Regions from separate parts of the Homo sapiens genome. Here all the other regions are linked to region 1. Evidence: promoter capture Hi-C in 16 types of primary human blood cells and fetal thymus (Javierre and others, 2016). All regions are on one chromosome and are shown on one strand. Each heading gives the region's core, a stretch centred on a gene start or on the middle of the fragment in contact. The rest is flanking DNA. Distances are from core to core; before and after follow the strand shown. Region 1 holds the start of ZNF689 (zinc finger protein 689). Region 2 overlaps ITGAL (integrin subunit alpha L). Region 3 overlaps TBC1D10B (TBC1 domain family member 10B). Region 4 overlaps ZNF771 (zinc finger protein 771). Region 5 has its middle 4.8 kb from the start of SEPHS2.

Region 1 (2,700 bases), core at 173-2,672:
TAGCAGTATGGCCCTGGAAACTCATGGAATCCCTCTGAGATCGTTTCTTCATTAGTAGAACCAGGATGATAACCATTGGTTCACAAAATGCTAGTAAAGAATTAATAACGGGCTGGGTGTGGTGGCTCACTCCTGTAATCCCAGCACTTTGGGAGACCGAGGTGGGCGGATTGCTTGAGCTCAGGAGTTCGAGACCAGCCTGGGAAACATGGCGAAACACCGTCTCTACCAAAAATACAAAAAATTAGCAGAGCACTGTGGGTGCATGCCTTCACTCCAGCCTGGGCAACGGAATGAGACCCAGTCTCAAAAAAAAAAAGCGAATAACTAATGGCTCCGGTGCTGTGGCTTATGCCAGTAATCCCAGCCCTTTGGGAGGACGAGGCAGGAGGATCACTTAGCCTAAGGGTTCGAGACCAGCCTGGGCAACACAGGGAAACCCTGACTCAACAAATAACATAAAAAATTAGCCAGGCGTGGTAGTGCACACCAGTAGTCCCAGTTACTCTGAAGGCTGAGGCAGGACGATTGCTTGAGCCCAGGAGTTAGAGGCTGCAGTGAGCTGAGATTGCACTACTGCATTCCATCCCGCCCGGGTAACAGAGTGAGACCCTGTCTCAAAAAAATAAAAATAAGGCCGGGCATAGTGGCTCACGCCTGTAATCCTAGCACTTCGTGGGGCCGAGGTGGGTGAATCACTTGAGGTCAGAAGTTCGAGACCAGCCTGGCTAACATGGTGAAACCCCATCTCTGCTAATAAATATGAATATTAGTCAGGAGTGGTGGCACGCGCCTGTAATCTCACTTACTCGGGAGGCTGAGGCAGGAGAATCGCTTGAACGTGGGAGGTGGAAGCTGCAGTGAGCCGAGATTTCGCCACTGCACTCCAGCCTGGGCGACAGAGCACGACTCTGTCTCAAAAATAAATAAATAAAATAAAAATAAAAAATAATAAAGATGAAATATGTAATATGCTGGGCATGGCGCCTGCCCCCAGGAAATGCTAACCATAATTCCCTCCCCTAAAGGGCAAACAAAGAAGATAACCATTCTCCAAAGTCAAGGATGCTCTGAGAACACCAGTAAAAGGAACTCAGGATAATCTCAGCTCTAACTCGGCCAGAGTGGCTCCATCGCTCAAATCGTTCCCTCCTTCAGTGATTGGCTGAGCCTGCCAGAGTCGAACAGCGGAAAGCAGCCCCGGGGCCTCTTGCTGCCCCCAGGTCGGTGCAAGTCGCTTCACAACTCCTTGTAGTCGCCTGATCCTAGCAGTCCAGCTTCCTGCCCTTATGCAGCTCTTGGCTTCGTTCAAACGGACCGCCTTTGCTAGCACCCAATCAGAACGCTCGATCTTCGGCTCTCGTCCAATGAACGCGCGTATTGGGGAGGGGAAAAAAGACGGCGTGAAGCCCAATCGCAGCGCCATTACACTTGAGGGCAAAGAGGTTAGGAAGCCGGCATGGCGCTCCGGTCAATAAAATCGATAGCTGGAAGCTGCCTGTGTTCCAGGCAAAGGCGGTGCGGTAGCAGCGCCGCCATTTTCCCCGAAGGCATCTTCCGGTGCCTTTCACCCAAGTTCGGGCAGGAGTTTCCTGAATAACAGCAAAAGGTTTCCGTTAGCCCCGCGGGCGACCAATTCCGATTCCCTCCGGGCCTCCCCGGCCACGCTCAGCCCTGGTCCGGCAGGGGCTCCTCGATCCCAGGGGCCGCCAGCGCCCGAGGGCCGAGGCCTGGACACGGAAGGCCGTGGCGCCGGCTTCTCGGGTCCCATGGCGCCACCTTCGGCTCCGCTCCCTGCGCAGGGACCAGGAAAGGCCAGACCCAGTCGGAAAAGGGGCAGGAGGCCGAGGGCTCTGAAGTTCGTGGACGTGGCCGTGTACTTCTCCCCGGAGGAGTGGGGCTGCCTGCGGCCCGCGCAGAGGGCCCTGTACCGGGACGTGATGCGGGAGACCTACGGTCACCTGGGCGCGCTCGGTGAGGCCGGCCCCATCCGCTGCCGCGGGGCGCGAAGGGATGCAGGAGCCGGAGAGGGTGTAGGCAGGGAGGCCACGGTCCTGGCAGGCGACCAGGTTGTCAGGGGAGGTGGGCAGGGGCTTAGCAGGAGGTGCCGTCGGGGAGATACTACTCGGCGTGATCTAGGAGCTGGCCTTCTGATTTGTTCTCTTTCCCCAGGGTGCGCAGGTCCCAAACCAGCCCTCATCTCCTGGTTGGAACGAAACACCGATGACTGGGAACCGGCTGCTCTAGATCCGCAGGAGTACCCGAGAGGGCTAACAGTCCAGAGAAGTGAGTGCTAAATAACCACGCAGAGCCTGCAGCCCTCCTATAACGTTCTACCTCTAACGGCTCTGTCCAGAGTTTTGGTTGGGCTAGGGGTGGGTGCCGCGTATTTAGTATATTCATCTTCCCAGCCTCTTGTGTCTGGTGGTGTGGGGCCGGTCCACCACACAGAGATTCCTATGTCAGTCTGCAAGCTGCAGTTTTCCACTGTGTGAATGAATCAGTGGGCTTATTCTTCGTCTTTTTTTTTTTTTTTTTTTTTTGTAGAAACATTGTCTTGCTCAGTTCGGTCTTGAACTTCTGGCCTCAAGCGATCCTCCTGCCTTGGCCTCCCAAAATGCAGGGGTTACTGGCGTGAGCCATTGCAGCCAGCCAGAATCAGTGAGCTTTTAACAGGTGCTACCCTCTGCCTCCTTTCCA
Region 2 (2,700 bases), core at 130-2,629, 130 kb after region 1:
GCTGCTTAACTAGATACAGTTGGCTGGGCCGGGGATCAACACCTGACTGAAGCTACGCCAGCCAGAACCTCTTCTCTGAGAACTGGAAATTTGCAAAGGGAGGTGTTGGTTGAGGGGAAGGTAAAAAACCCTCTTGGAACTTTAACACATGAACTTAGGAGCTTTCCATAGGTCTATGTGGTCTAAAGGCGCTAAGGGAGCCAGTCTACGGAGACTGAGAAAAGAGAAGAAGGAAGCAAAGACGCAAAAAGAAACAGAAATGAGAACTAGCTGGGCACAGTGGCTCATGCCTGTAATCCCAGCACTTTGGGAGGCCAAGGCAGGAGGATCTCTTGAGAGATCCAGGAGTTTGGGACCAGTCTGGGCAACACAATGATAAACCATCTCTACAGAAAATTTAAAAATTAGCCACGCACAGTGGTGCACATGGGTAGTCCCAGCTAGTTGGGAGGATCATTTGAGCCCAGGAGTTTGAGGCTACAGTGAGCTATGATCGTGCCACCATGATTCCAGCCTTGGGGACACAGTGAGACCCTGTCTCAAAAAGAAAAAATGGCTGTGCACGGTGGCTCACGCCTGTAATCCCAGCACTTTGGGAGGCCAAGGTGGGCAGATCACAAGGTCAGGAGTTCAAGACCAGCCTGGCAACATGGTGAAACACCATCTCTACTAAAAATACAAAAATCAGCTGGGTGTAGTGGCAGTTGCCTGTAATACCAGCTACTTGGGAGGCTGAGGCAGGTGACTTGCTTGAACCTGGGAGGCAGTGAGTCGAGATTGTGCCATTGCACTCCAGCCTGGGCAACAAGAGCAAAACTCCATCTCAAAAAAAAAAAAAAAAAAAAAAAAAAAAAGGAAATGAGAACTAGAGAGACTCCTAGAAGCTTTCTACTCCCTGGTTCTTGTCCCTTCCAGAGGCCCAGTTATAGCCATGCCCATAGGCTCTGAGGATTCCACATACTAACATTTCCTTTCATGGTTTAAGTCAGTTCAGGTAGGCATCTATTGCATGCAACCAAGAATCCTAACTAACTTTTTTACCTGGTACGAAGTGTTGCTGAGTTTCTTCATCACATCCTTCATGAAGTCCAGAATTTTCTGAAATTCATCTGGCTGCAAGCTCATCGAACCATCAAACAGAAATACCAGGTCTACGTTGCCCTTGATACATTCTGCAGAAGCCAGACGCAAGGGACCCAGTGAAGCATCTCTGGTGTTTGACCTGCCCATGCTGGTTCTCTCTAGGGACAGCCATTTGGAGGTATTTTTACCCAATGAGTCCCCAGTTCCTTACCCTGAAAACCAGGGCGCCCCTGCAGCATGGGACCCTGCAGATTCTGGCGGAAGAGGTAACACAGGCCACTCAGATAGGTGTTCTGGTCACACGTTCGAGACAGCCCAGGGTCACAGGCCTAAAGAAAGCAAAGGCCAAAGATTTGGGTCTCCTATTTGCTATGTGTCTTTTGGGCAACATCAACCAAAACTAGGAACGTTCAGAGTCCTTGTCCTCTTTCTCACTTCCTCTATCCAACTGGTTACCAAGGCAAGGAATGTCCGCCTCCACAGTCTCTACTGTCCATCCCTCCCATCCTACCAATGCTCTATGCCAATGGATGCTCACCGCCTGTAGGACTGGTGGTGAGTCTGGACTCCTTATCTGGGCTTACACTGGGCACGACCCCACATTTCCAGGTCCATCTTCTCCTAGTCCCAATCTCTTTTTCTGTGTTCCAGCCAAATCAAATTATCAAGATTCCCAGAATATACAGTGCCTCTTTCTTTCTTTCTTTTTTTTTTTTTTTTTTGAGATGGAGTCTTCGCTCTATCGCCTAGGCTGGACTGCATGGCATGATCTCGGCTCACTGCAAGCTTCGCCTCCCGGGTTCACGCCATTCTCCTGCCTCAGCCTTCTGAGTAGCTGGGACTACAGGCACCCGCCACTACACCCGGCTAATTTTTTGTATTTTTAGCAGAGACGGGGTTTCACCGTGTTAGCCAGGATGGTCTTGATCTCCCAACCTCGTGATCTGCCTGCCTCGGCCTCCCAAAGTGCTGGGATTACAGGCATGAGCCACCGCGCCCGGCCATGCCTCTTTCTTTCTTTTTCCCTTCCTCTCCCCTCCCCTCCGCCCCCCACTTTCTTTCTTTTTCTTTCTTTCTTTTTTTTTTTTGACGGAGTCTCGCTTTGTCACCCAGTCTGGAGTGCAGTGGTGCGATCTTGGCTCACTGCAACCTCTGCTTCCCGGGTTCAAGTGATTCTCCTGCCTCAACCTCCTCAGTAGCTGGGACTACAGGTGCCCACCACCACGCCCAGTTAATTTTTGTACTTTTAGTAGAGACGGGGTTTCACCATATTGGCCAGGATGGTCTCAAACTCCTGACCTTGTGTCTGCCCACCTCGGCCTCCCAAAGTGCTGGGATTACAGGAGTGAGCCACTGCACCCAGCCTTTTCTTTCTTTCCTTCCTTCCTTCTCCTTCCTTCCTTCATCTTTCTTTTTCTTCTTCCTTCCTTCCTATCTCTCTCTCCTCCTCTCCCCTTCCTTCCTTCCCTCCCTCCCTCCGTCCTTTCTTTCTTTCCTTTCTTTGCTTTCTTGCTTTCTTTCCTTGCTTTCTTTCTTTTCAGGTCTCACTCCCATCACCCAGGCTGGAGTGCAGTGGGACAATCATGGCTCACTGCAGCCTCAACTTCCTGGGCTCAG
Region 3 (2,700 bases), core at 99-2,598, 240 kb after region 1:
AGGCTGGTCTTGAACTCTCGACCTCAGGTGATCCGCTTCTCACTTCTGACACCTCCGCCTCCCAAAGTGCTGGGATTACAGGCATGAGCCACCATGCCCGGCCCGGTGGTGTCTTTTTATAATTGAGGAAGGGACTCAGGTCATCCCTTGACAAAGCTCCCTATTGTCTCAGAGACAGAACTGAAATTTGAACTTAGGTAGGTTTGATTCTTAAGACCCAAGCTTTCTTCCGTTCTACTCACCTCCTAGTACTGGCTCCTACAAGTAAGTGTTTGAAGAATGATGGGGCACCATGAGTATGAACCTCTGACAGAACAGTGAGTAAATAGGGCAGGGAGTCCTTTATTTGCCTGGGGTGATTTCAGGGAGGAGGAGGTAGAGTAAATTGCAGGTGACCCAAGGGATCTTAAACATTTGATAGGACAAAACTCAGATGGTTGCGTCTAAAGAGACAGAAGTACATTTGTTCTGTATTTTATTTTATTATTATTATTTTTTTTTTTGATGGAGTCTCGCTCTGTCATCTGGGCTGGAGTGCAGTGGCACAATCTTGACTCACTGCACCCTCCGCCTCCCGGGTTCAAGCGATTCTCATGCCTCAGCTTCGCGAATAGCTGGGATTTCAAGCACGTGCCACCATGCCTGGCTAATTTTTGTATTTATAGTAGAGACAGGGTTTTACCATGTTGTCCAGGCTGGTCTCAAACTCCTGACCTCAAGTCATCCGCCTGCCTCGGCCTCCCAAAGTGCTGGGATTACAGGTGGGAGCCACCATGCCCGGCCTATTTTATTATTTTATTTTTATTTTTTGTAGAGACAGAATCTCGTTATGTTGCCCAGGCTGGCCTTGAACTCCTGGCCTCAAGTGATCCTCTTGCCTCTGCTTCCCAAAGTGCTGGGATTACAGGCATGAGCTACCATGCCTGGCCCTCTAGGGTATTTTATTTTATGGATAGTAAGGTATTACTTAATGGGCACTTCGCTGTGTGTTATTTCGTATAAACCCCTTCGGGTAGATATTGTTACTTTCTCCACCTTACAGATGAGGAAATTGGGCTTAGCAAAATTAAGTGATTTGCCCAAGGTCACACAATGAATAAATGGTAAAGCTAGGACGTGGATCCAGATCTAATGCAAAATGTGGCTTTAAAATACTCCATACTCTCTCCCCAGATTTGGATGTGTCAGAAGTGAGATTTAAATATGACCTCTGAATAGAGATCCATCAGGGAAGGAAGCCCTTTCAGTGTGCCTTGGGATGCCCAAGTGGCCAGACATCCTGATGTTTGGCAGCTCACAGACTATCCAGTTTCTCGTTTGAGCTTGGGGAGGTGGCTTGCCTCAGTTCCCCCTGCAATGCAGGTTTTACACTATTGCTACTGACCCCTTCCGTGCTCCCCCGACCCTGCAGAGAGAGCTCCATTCCCGTGGACGTGGCTCGGCAGCGGGAGCTCAAATGGCTGGACATGTTCAGTAACTGGGATAAGTGGCTGTCACGGCGATTCCAGAAGGTTTGAGGGCTGAATGGTGGGCAGGGCAATGCACAAGTTGGGAGGGGTAGCATGTGCTCCAGGGAAGCCCAGGAAGCCGATAATATCTGCCCTCTGGACCACACTGGGGATAGATGGGCCCTGGCGGGGGAATGGCTTTAAAAATAGAAGTCCAGGCCAGGTCCAGTGGAATCAAGCCTATGGGATGTCGGAGGAGTATCCAGGGAGTTTGTGGACTGCTGGGGAAAGGTTGGAGGCTGTGCCAGCCCTTGAAGCTGTCCCCCTCCTGCCACTTTGCCTTAGGTGAAGCTGCGCTGCCGGAAGGGGATCCCCTCCTCTCTCAGAGCCAAAGCCTGGCAGTACCTGTCTAATAGCAAGGAACTTCTGGAGCAGAACCCAGGAAAGTTTGAGGTGCGTGCAGCTCCAAGGTGTGGGGACATGTGGCCCTGTCTGTGCAAGGGGTATCAGTTCCCCCAGATGCTGAGGTAATCCCCACTGTCCCACTGCAGGAGCTGGAACGGGCTCCTGGGGACCCCAAGTGGCTGGATGTGATTGAGAAGGACCTGCACCGCCAGTTCCCTTTCCACGAGATGTTTGCTGCTCGAGGGGGGCATGGGTAAGGTGGCCGGACCATGGGGGTCAGTCAGCAAACATTGGCTGGAGGATCCACCTTTTAGCTAGGTGGATACAAGACTGAGTCGAAAGTGGTTTTTGCCCTTCAGGACTTGTAGAAGAGCTATCTGTAATGGACTAAGTGTCAAGCCATGTCAAAGGAACTGTCCTGGGAAGGAGACTTGACTCAGGTTGTGTGTGGGGGCACGTCATGGGCTCCTTGAAGAGCTTGCATTTGGGCTGGGTTTTGGAGGGGTGGGAGCTACAGCAGTGGGGCAGGGTTTTCCTGCCTGGGGGTTATGGAAAAGATCACCAGGGACCCTTAAATGCTATGCCAAAGCATTTGGAATTTTGTTCTATAGACCAAGCTTCCTCCAGATGTCAGTATATACTCTTCTCTAGTAGTATGCAAGATGATCATCTTAGGGAGTTCTCTGATGGACTTTTTTTTGTTTTGTTTTTTGAGATGGAGTCTCCCTTTGTTGCCCAGGCTGGAGTGCAGTGGTGTGATCTCAGCCCACTGCAACCTCTGCCTCCCAGGTACAAGCAATTCTCATGCCTCAGCCTCCTGAGTAGCTGGGATTATAGGTGCACACCA
Region 4 (2,700 bases), core at 132-2,631, 190 kb after region 1:
CGGCCACACACAGCGCAGCGGTGCGGCTTCTCGCCCGTGTGCACGCGCCGGTGCTTGGCCAGCGCCGAGCTCTGAGCGAAGCGCGTGCCGCAGTCGGCGCAAGCGTAGGGCCGCTCGCCCGTGTGCGTGCGTCGGTGGCGCGCCAGGCACGAGCTGCCGCCAAAGGCGCGTCCGCAGTCCGGGCACGCGTACGGCTTCTCGCCCGTGTGCACGCGCAGGTGCTGTGCGTAGTTGGAGCTCTGCGCGAAGCGGCGGCCGCAGTGCGCGCATGCGTACGGCTTCTCGCCCGTGTGCCGCCGCCGGTGCTGCCGCAGGTTCGAGGCGGCCGAGAAGCGTTTGTCGCACTCGGGGCACTCGTAGGGCCGCTCGCCCGTGTGCGTGCGGCCGTGTTTGGTCAGCGCCGACTTCTGTGAGAAGCGCCGCCCGCACTCGGTGCACCCGAAGGGCCGTTCGCCCGTGTGCGTGCGCGCGTGCTTCGCCAGCGTGGAGCGGCGCGCGAAGGCGCGGCCGCAGTCGGGGCACGCGTGGGGACGCGCCGGGTCGGCGGACGGCGCGGGCGCCTCGCCCGGGACCTGCGGGGAGAGGGGGATAGGTCAGCCCTTAGCGGCAGGCCCCGGAGCCAGAGACCTGGGTCTCCACAGGCTGCTCCCTCTGTGAGCCTCAGTTCCCCATCTATGAAATAGGAAAGGCCACGGTGCTGCCTCCCAGGATGGCTGTGCGCATCCAGTGAGATAATGCGCGTAACGCACACATCACAAAGCCCAGTGGCGTTCTAGCTATTTTTATTAATTCAACCAATATTTACTGAGGGCATGCAGTGTCCTAGACTGTTCTAGGCACGGGGATTCCGCATTAAATAAAAAGCATTAAAAAATTCCTGCTTTCAGAAATAATGGATAAGGAATGCTGGTATTGGGGATGCTACAGATTTAAACAGGGTTGTCAAGACACTTTACCGATATGATAACATGAGCAAAGACTTAAAGGAGGTGACAGAGCAGGCTACGTGGATAGCCCTCTGAGGAGCACTGCAGAGGGAACGGCAGGGCGCAGAGGCGGGAGTTGCCTGCTGTTCCAGAAATGGCAAGAAAAATTGGTTAAAGCAGAATGCATGATGGGGGGAGTCACGGATGTAGTGGTGGAGATCTCTTGGCATATAGGGCCTTGTATTTGTTATATTTGGCTTTTTTTTTTTTTTTTTTTTTTAAGAGACAGGGTCTTGCCGTGGCCCAGGCTTGGTCCCGAACCTCCTGGCTCAAGCAGTCCCTCCTGACTCAGCCTTCTGAGTAGCTGGAGTTACAGGCACATACCACTGTGCCTGGCTCTGGCTTTTATTATAAAGGAGACAGGGACCTGTAAGAGGAGATGTCAGAGGGCTTTGAGCAGGGAAGTGACCATATCCTACACATTTAAAAAGGCTCCCCTCAGGCTACTGGGGTTGAAAACCAAATGAAGGAGTTGGAGAGAGCAGAAGCAGAAGCCCAGTGAGGAGGCCACTACAGCCACCTGGCAAGAGAAGATAGTGGCTCATACCCAGGTGACAGAAGTGGACGGTGGATGGTGGAGGTGGTGAGAAGTGATTGGCTTCTGGATCTATTTGCAGTGTGAGACAATAGATTTAATAAGAGATTAGATATGAGGTGTGAAGAAAAAGAGATCAAAATGACTTCAAGGTTTTTGAGCTTAGCAACTGCAAAGGTGGAGTTGCCATTTACAGAGATGAGGACGGTGGGAGGAGCAAGTTGAGAGGGGAGATCTGTTTTGGATGGTGTCACGGCTTCTTGACATATCTGGAGCTCAGAAGCGAGGCCTAGACTGGAGATGTTAATTGAGAAGCTGTCAACCTATAGATGGTTTATAAAGCCTTGAGAATGAGTGGATGAGATCATCCAGGGGATGGGCAGACAGAACCTAGGGCAGCAAGATGGGGAGAAGCCAGGGAGGGAGGAGAGCAGGAGAGGGGCATCCTGGAAGCCAGGCCAGGACCAAGTCCAGGCTCTTAATCAGCTTTGAATAGCAAACACCTATCATTTTTTAAGCAGTGAAGAAAAAGGCAAGGGTAAAAGCCAAATGTTATTCTGAGGTCTGAAATGAAACAATCTGAAAATGAGCCAGTTTCACAAGCTCTGGCCTTTTAGAGATAAAAATCAGAAAAAGGAAAGAAATGCCTTCTAAGAGGCACATGAAGGGAAAACATTCTGGACTAACAGTGAAGAGTATTGAGGGCATATTGCTCCCTTCCTAGAAAAGAGAACGCTCAAAACCCCAGCAAAACTGATGTCGCGTATCTACTGTGGCCAAGCAATTAATTCATGACCAAATGAAGTGCCTGGGGCATATTAAGGACAAGACAGTGTCAGCTTCTCCCATATTCGATCTCCACGAGGTAATTATCATCATCCCTATTTTACAGATGGGGAGACAGGTGAAGAGAGAGGGACAGCAAGGCCAGGTGCAGTGGCTCACGCCTGTAATACCAGCACTTTGGGAGGCCGAGGCAGGTGGATCACGAGGTCAGGAGTTCAAGCCCAGCCTAGCCAAGATGTTGAAACCCCGTCTCTACTACAAATACAAAAATTAGCTGGGCGTGGTGGCGGACGCCTGTAATCCCAGCTACTCGGGAGGCTGAGGCAGGGAACTGCTTGAACCCGGGAGGTGGAGGTTGCAGTGAGCCAAGATTGCACCACTGCCTCCAGCCTA
Region 5 (2,700 bases), core at 95-2,594, 170 kb after region 1:
AAAAAATAAATAAAAGCCCAAAATCACTCTACCACAAGGCCTCCTAGGTGAAAGCCTTTATTGAATGATGTTAAGCTTTTTTTTTTTTTTTTCCGGACAAAGTCTCACTCTGTTGCCCAGGCTGGAGTGCAGTGGTTCGATCTCAGCTCACTGCAACCTCCGCCTCCCAGGTTCAAGCGATTCTTCTGCCTCAGCCTCCCGAGTAGCTGAGATTACAGGTGTGCACCACCACGCCCGGTGAATTTTGTGTTTTTAGTAGAAAATGTGGTTTCACCATGTTGGCCAGGCTGGTCTCCAACTCCTAACCTGAAGCAATTTACCCGCCTCAGCCTCCTGAAGTGCTGGGATTACAGGCATGAGCCACCGCGCCCAGCTAATGTTAAGCTTTTTAATGCCTCATTCTTAAATATGAGCAGTCAAGGATCACCAAGCATGTGAGGAGAGCCTCCAACTTAAACAGAAAAAGGAAACTCAGAGGGACAATACAGGGAGTAGGAAAAAAGATAAAAAATATCCGCAAAGCAATACTTAAGAGAACCAGCCACTTAGAATATAAAGATAAAGCTAAAACTTGAAATTTTTAATAGGGGGCTGGGTGCAGTGGCTCACATCTGTAATCCCAGCATTTTGGGAGGCCAAGGCGGGCGGATCACCTGAGGTCAGGAGTTCGAGACCAGCCTGGCCAACATGGTGAAACCCCCATCTTTAATAAAAATATAAAAATTAGACAGGCTTGATGGCATGAACCTGTAATCCCAGCTACTCAGGAGGCTGAGGCAGGAAAATCACTTGAACCCAGGAGGCAGAGGATGCAGTGAGCCAAGATCATGCCATTGCACTCCAGCCTGGATGACAAGGCAAAATTCTGTCTCCAAAAAAAAAAAAAAAATTTCTAATAGGAGACATAAAGTTGCAGAAATTTATCAGAAAGTAGCCCCAAAAGGCCAGGCACCTTACTCACACCTGTAATCCCAGCACTTTGGGAGGCCAAGGTGGGCTTGAGCCCATGAGTTCAAGACCAACCTGAGCAACGTGGCGAAAACCTGTCTCTACAAAAAATACAAAAATTAGCAGGCATGGTGGTGTGCACTTGTAGTCCCAGCTTCTCTGGAGGCTGGGGTGGGAGGATCACTTGAGCCTGGGAGATGGAGGCTGTAGTGAGCCAAGATTGCACCACTGCAGTCACCACTGCAGTCCAGCCTGGGTGACACAGTGAGATCCTGTCTCAAAAAATAAATAAGCCGGGCGCGGTGGCTCACGCCTGTAATCCCAGCACTTTGGGAGGCCAAGGCAGGCGGATCACGAGGTCAGGAGATCAAGACCATCCTGGCTAACACGGCGAAACCCCGTCTCTACTAAAAATACAAAAAATTAGCCGGGCGTGGTGGCAGGCACCTGTAGTCCCAGCTACTTGGGAGGCTGAGGCAGGAGAACGGCGTGAACCCGGGAGGTGGAGCTGGCAGTGAGCCAAGACTATGCCACTGCACTCCAGCCTGGGTGACAGAGCGAGACTCTGTCTCAAAAATAAATAAATAAGAAAGTAGACCATGTCGCCATAAAAAAGAATGAGTTCATGTCCTTTGCAGGGACATGGATGAAGCTGGAAGCCATCATTCTCAGCAAACTAACACAGGAACAGAAAACCAAACACTTGCATGTTCTCACTCATAAGTGGGAGTTGAACAAATGAGAACACATGGACACAGGGAGGGGAACATCACACACCAGGGCCCATTGGGGGTTGGGGGCAAAGGGAGGGAGAGCATTAGGACAAACAGCTAAAGCATGCGGGGCTTAAAACCTAGATGACAGGTTGATAGGTGCAGCAAACCACCATAGCACATGTATACCTGTGTAACAGGCCTGCATGTTCTGCACATGTATCCCAGAACGTGAAGTAAAATAAAAAAAAAAAGTAGCCCAAAAAGATGCACAATAAAATAAATTCTATAAAGATCAAATGAGGCAGGAGGTTCAACATCTAAGCGGAGTTCTAGAATAAGGCAGTAAAGCAGATGGAAGAAAAAATATTATCCAAGTTTTCTAGAACTTAAAAGTTGTAAACCACATACCTCTTGAACTCCTAGCACAGTACATTTTAAAAGATCCATGCTAATTTTATTAAATTTCAAAATGCCAGTTATGAAGAAGAGATCCTAATAATAATGAAAGCAAATGTTTATATAGCACATATTCTGTGCAGGAAGTAAGTGCTTTATACGTATTAACCCAATCTTCTAACAACCCCAATTTGCAAATGAGGAAGCTGAGGTATAGGGAGAATAAGAAATTTGTCCAAGCTTGCATAGTCAGTCTTGTAGGCGGTCTGACTCCAGAACCCATGCTTCTGATCACTATGATCACATACAAAGGTGTGGGAATAATGACACACCTTTGTATGTCATCATGACATCAGACTTCACAACCTCAAATTGGAAGCTAAAAAACAATAAAGCAGCCAGGTGCGGTGGCTCACACCTGTAATTCCAGCACTTTGGAAAGCCGAGGCAGGAGGATCACTTGAGCCTAGGAGTTTGTGACCAGCCTGGGCAATACAGTGAGATCCTATTTCTACAAAAAAAATAGAAAATTAAGTTTAGCCAGGCATGGTGGCATGCGCCTGAGGCCGAGGTGCAAGGATTGCTTGAGCAACAGAGTGAGACCCTGTCTCAGAAAAAAAATTTAAAAACAACACACACA

Evidence for each region. The method cuts DNA at HindIII sites, captures the fragments that hold promoters and counts their contacts. A CHiCAGO score of 5 or more calls a contact.
Region 2: a contact is called between a fragment that was not itself captured here and the fragment with the promoter of ZNF689 in region 1, in 3 of 17 cell types (erythroblasts, M1 macrophages and M2 macrophages). The highest score is 6.3, in erythroblasts.
Region 3: a fragment that was not itself captured here is called in contact with the fragment with the promoter of ZNF689 in region 1 in 3 of 17 cell types (M2 macrophages, non-activated CD4 T cells and erythroblasts); the score reaches 11.3 in M2 macrophages.
Region 4: a fragment that was not itself captured here is called in contact with the fragment with the promoter of ZNF689 in region 1 in 16 of 17 cell types (M2 macrophages, fetal thymus, erythroblasts and 13 more); the score reaches 15.4 in M2 macrophages.
Region 5: a fragment that was not itself captured here is called in contact with the fragment with the promoter of ZNF689 in region 1 in 16 of 17 cell types (erythroblasts, M2 macrophages, endothelial precursors and 13 more); the score reaches 15.5 in erythroblasts.

What each region holds. Positions count from the first base shown.
Region 1 is chr16:30,609,111-30,611,810 of GRCh38, reverse strand. ZNF689 (zinc finger protein 689) reads left to right here and starts at 1,422. Exons shown (of 3, transcript NM_138447.3): 1 at 1,422-1,974; 2 at 2,173-2,286. The coding sequence starts at 1,770. It overlaps LOC124903678 (a long non-coding RNA gene), which reads right to left and starts at 1,337. Exons shown (of 2, transcript XR_007065051.1): 1 at 1,048-1,337. RefSeq lists an enhancer at 426-1,395 and a silencer at 1,683-1,732. The HindIII fragment of the contact is 6,999 bases long and covers 1-2,700 here.
Region 2 is chr16:30,477,803-30,480,502 of GRCh38, reverse strand. It overlaps ITGAL (integrin subunit alpha L), which reads right to left. Exons shown (of 31, transcript NM_002209.3): 5 at 1,295-1,412; 6 at 1,042-1,172. Among named protein-coding and RNA genes, the nearest start is that of ITGAL, 6.4 kb to the right of the region's middle. The HindIII fragment of the contact is 985 bases long and covers 887-1,871 here.
Region 3 is chr16:30,364,306-30,367,005 of GRCh38, reverse strand. TBC1D10B (TBC1 domain family member 10B) reads left to right here. Exons shown (of 9, transcript NM_015527.4): 2 at 1,412-1,511; 3 at 1,794-1,901; 4 at 2,000-2,106. Among named protein-coding and RNA genes, the nearest start is that of TBC1D10B, 4.8 kb to the left of the region's middle. The HindIII fragment of the contact is 2,248 bases long and covers 225-2,472 here.
Region 4 is chr16:30,415,427-30,418,126 of GRCh38, reverse strand. It overlaps ZNF771 (zinc finger protein 771), which reads right to left. Exons shown (of 3, transcript NM_001142305.2): 3 at 1-572. Among named protein-coding and RNA genes, the nearest start is that of SNORA80C, 3.0 kb to the left of the region's middle. RefSeq lists silencers at 56-105, 136-215, 496-585. The HindIII fragment of the contact is 4,394 bases long and covers 1-2,700 here.
Region 5 is chr16:30,439,772-30,442,471 of GRCh38, reverse strand. No RefSeq gene overlaps it. Among named protein-coding and RNA genes, the nearest start is that of SEPHS2, 4.8 kb to the left of the region's middle. RefSeq lists an enhancer at 1-144. The HindIII fragment of the contact is 1,916 bases long and covers 387-2,302 here.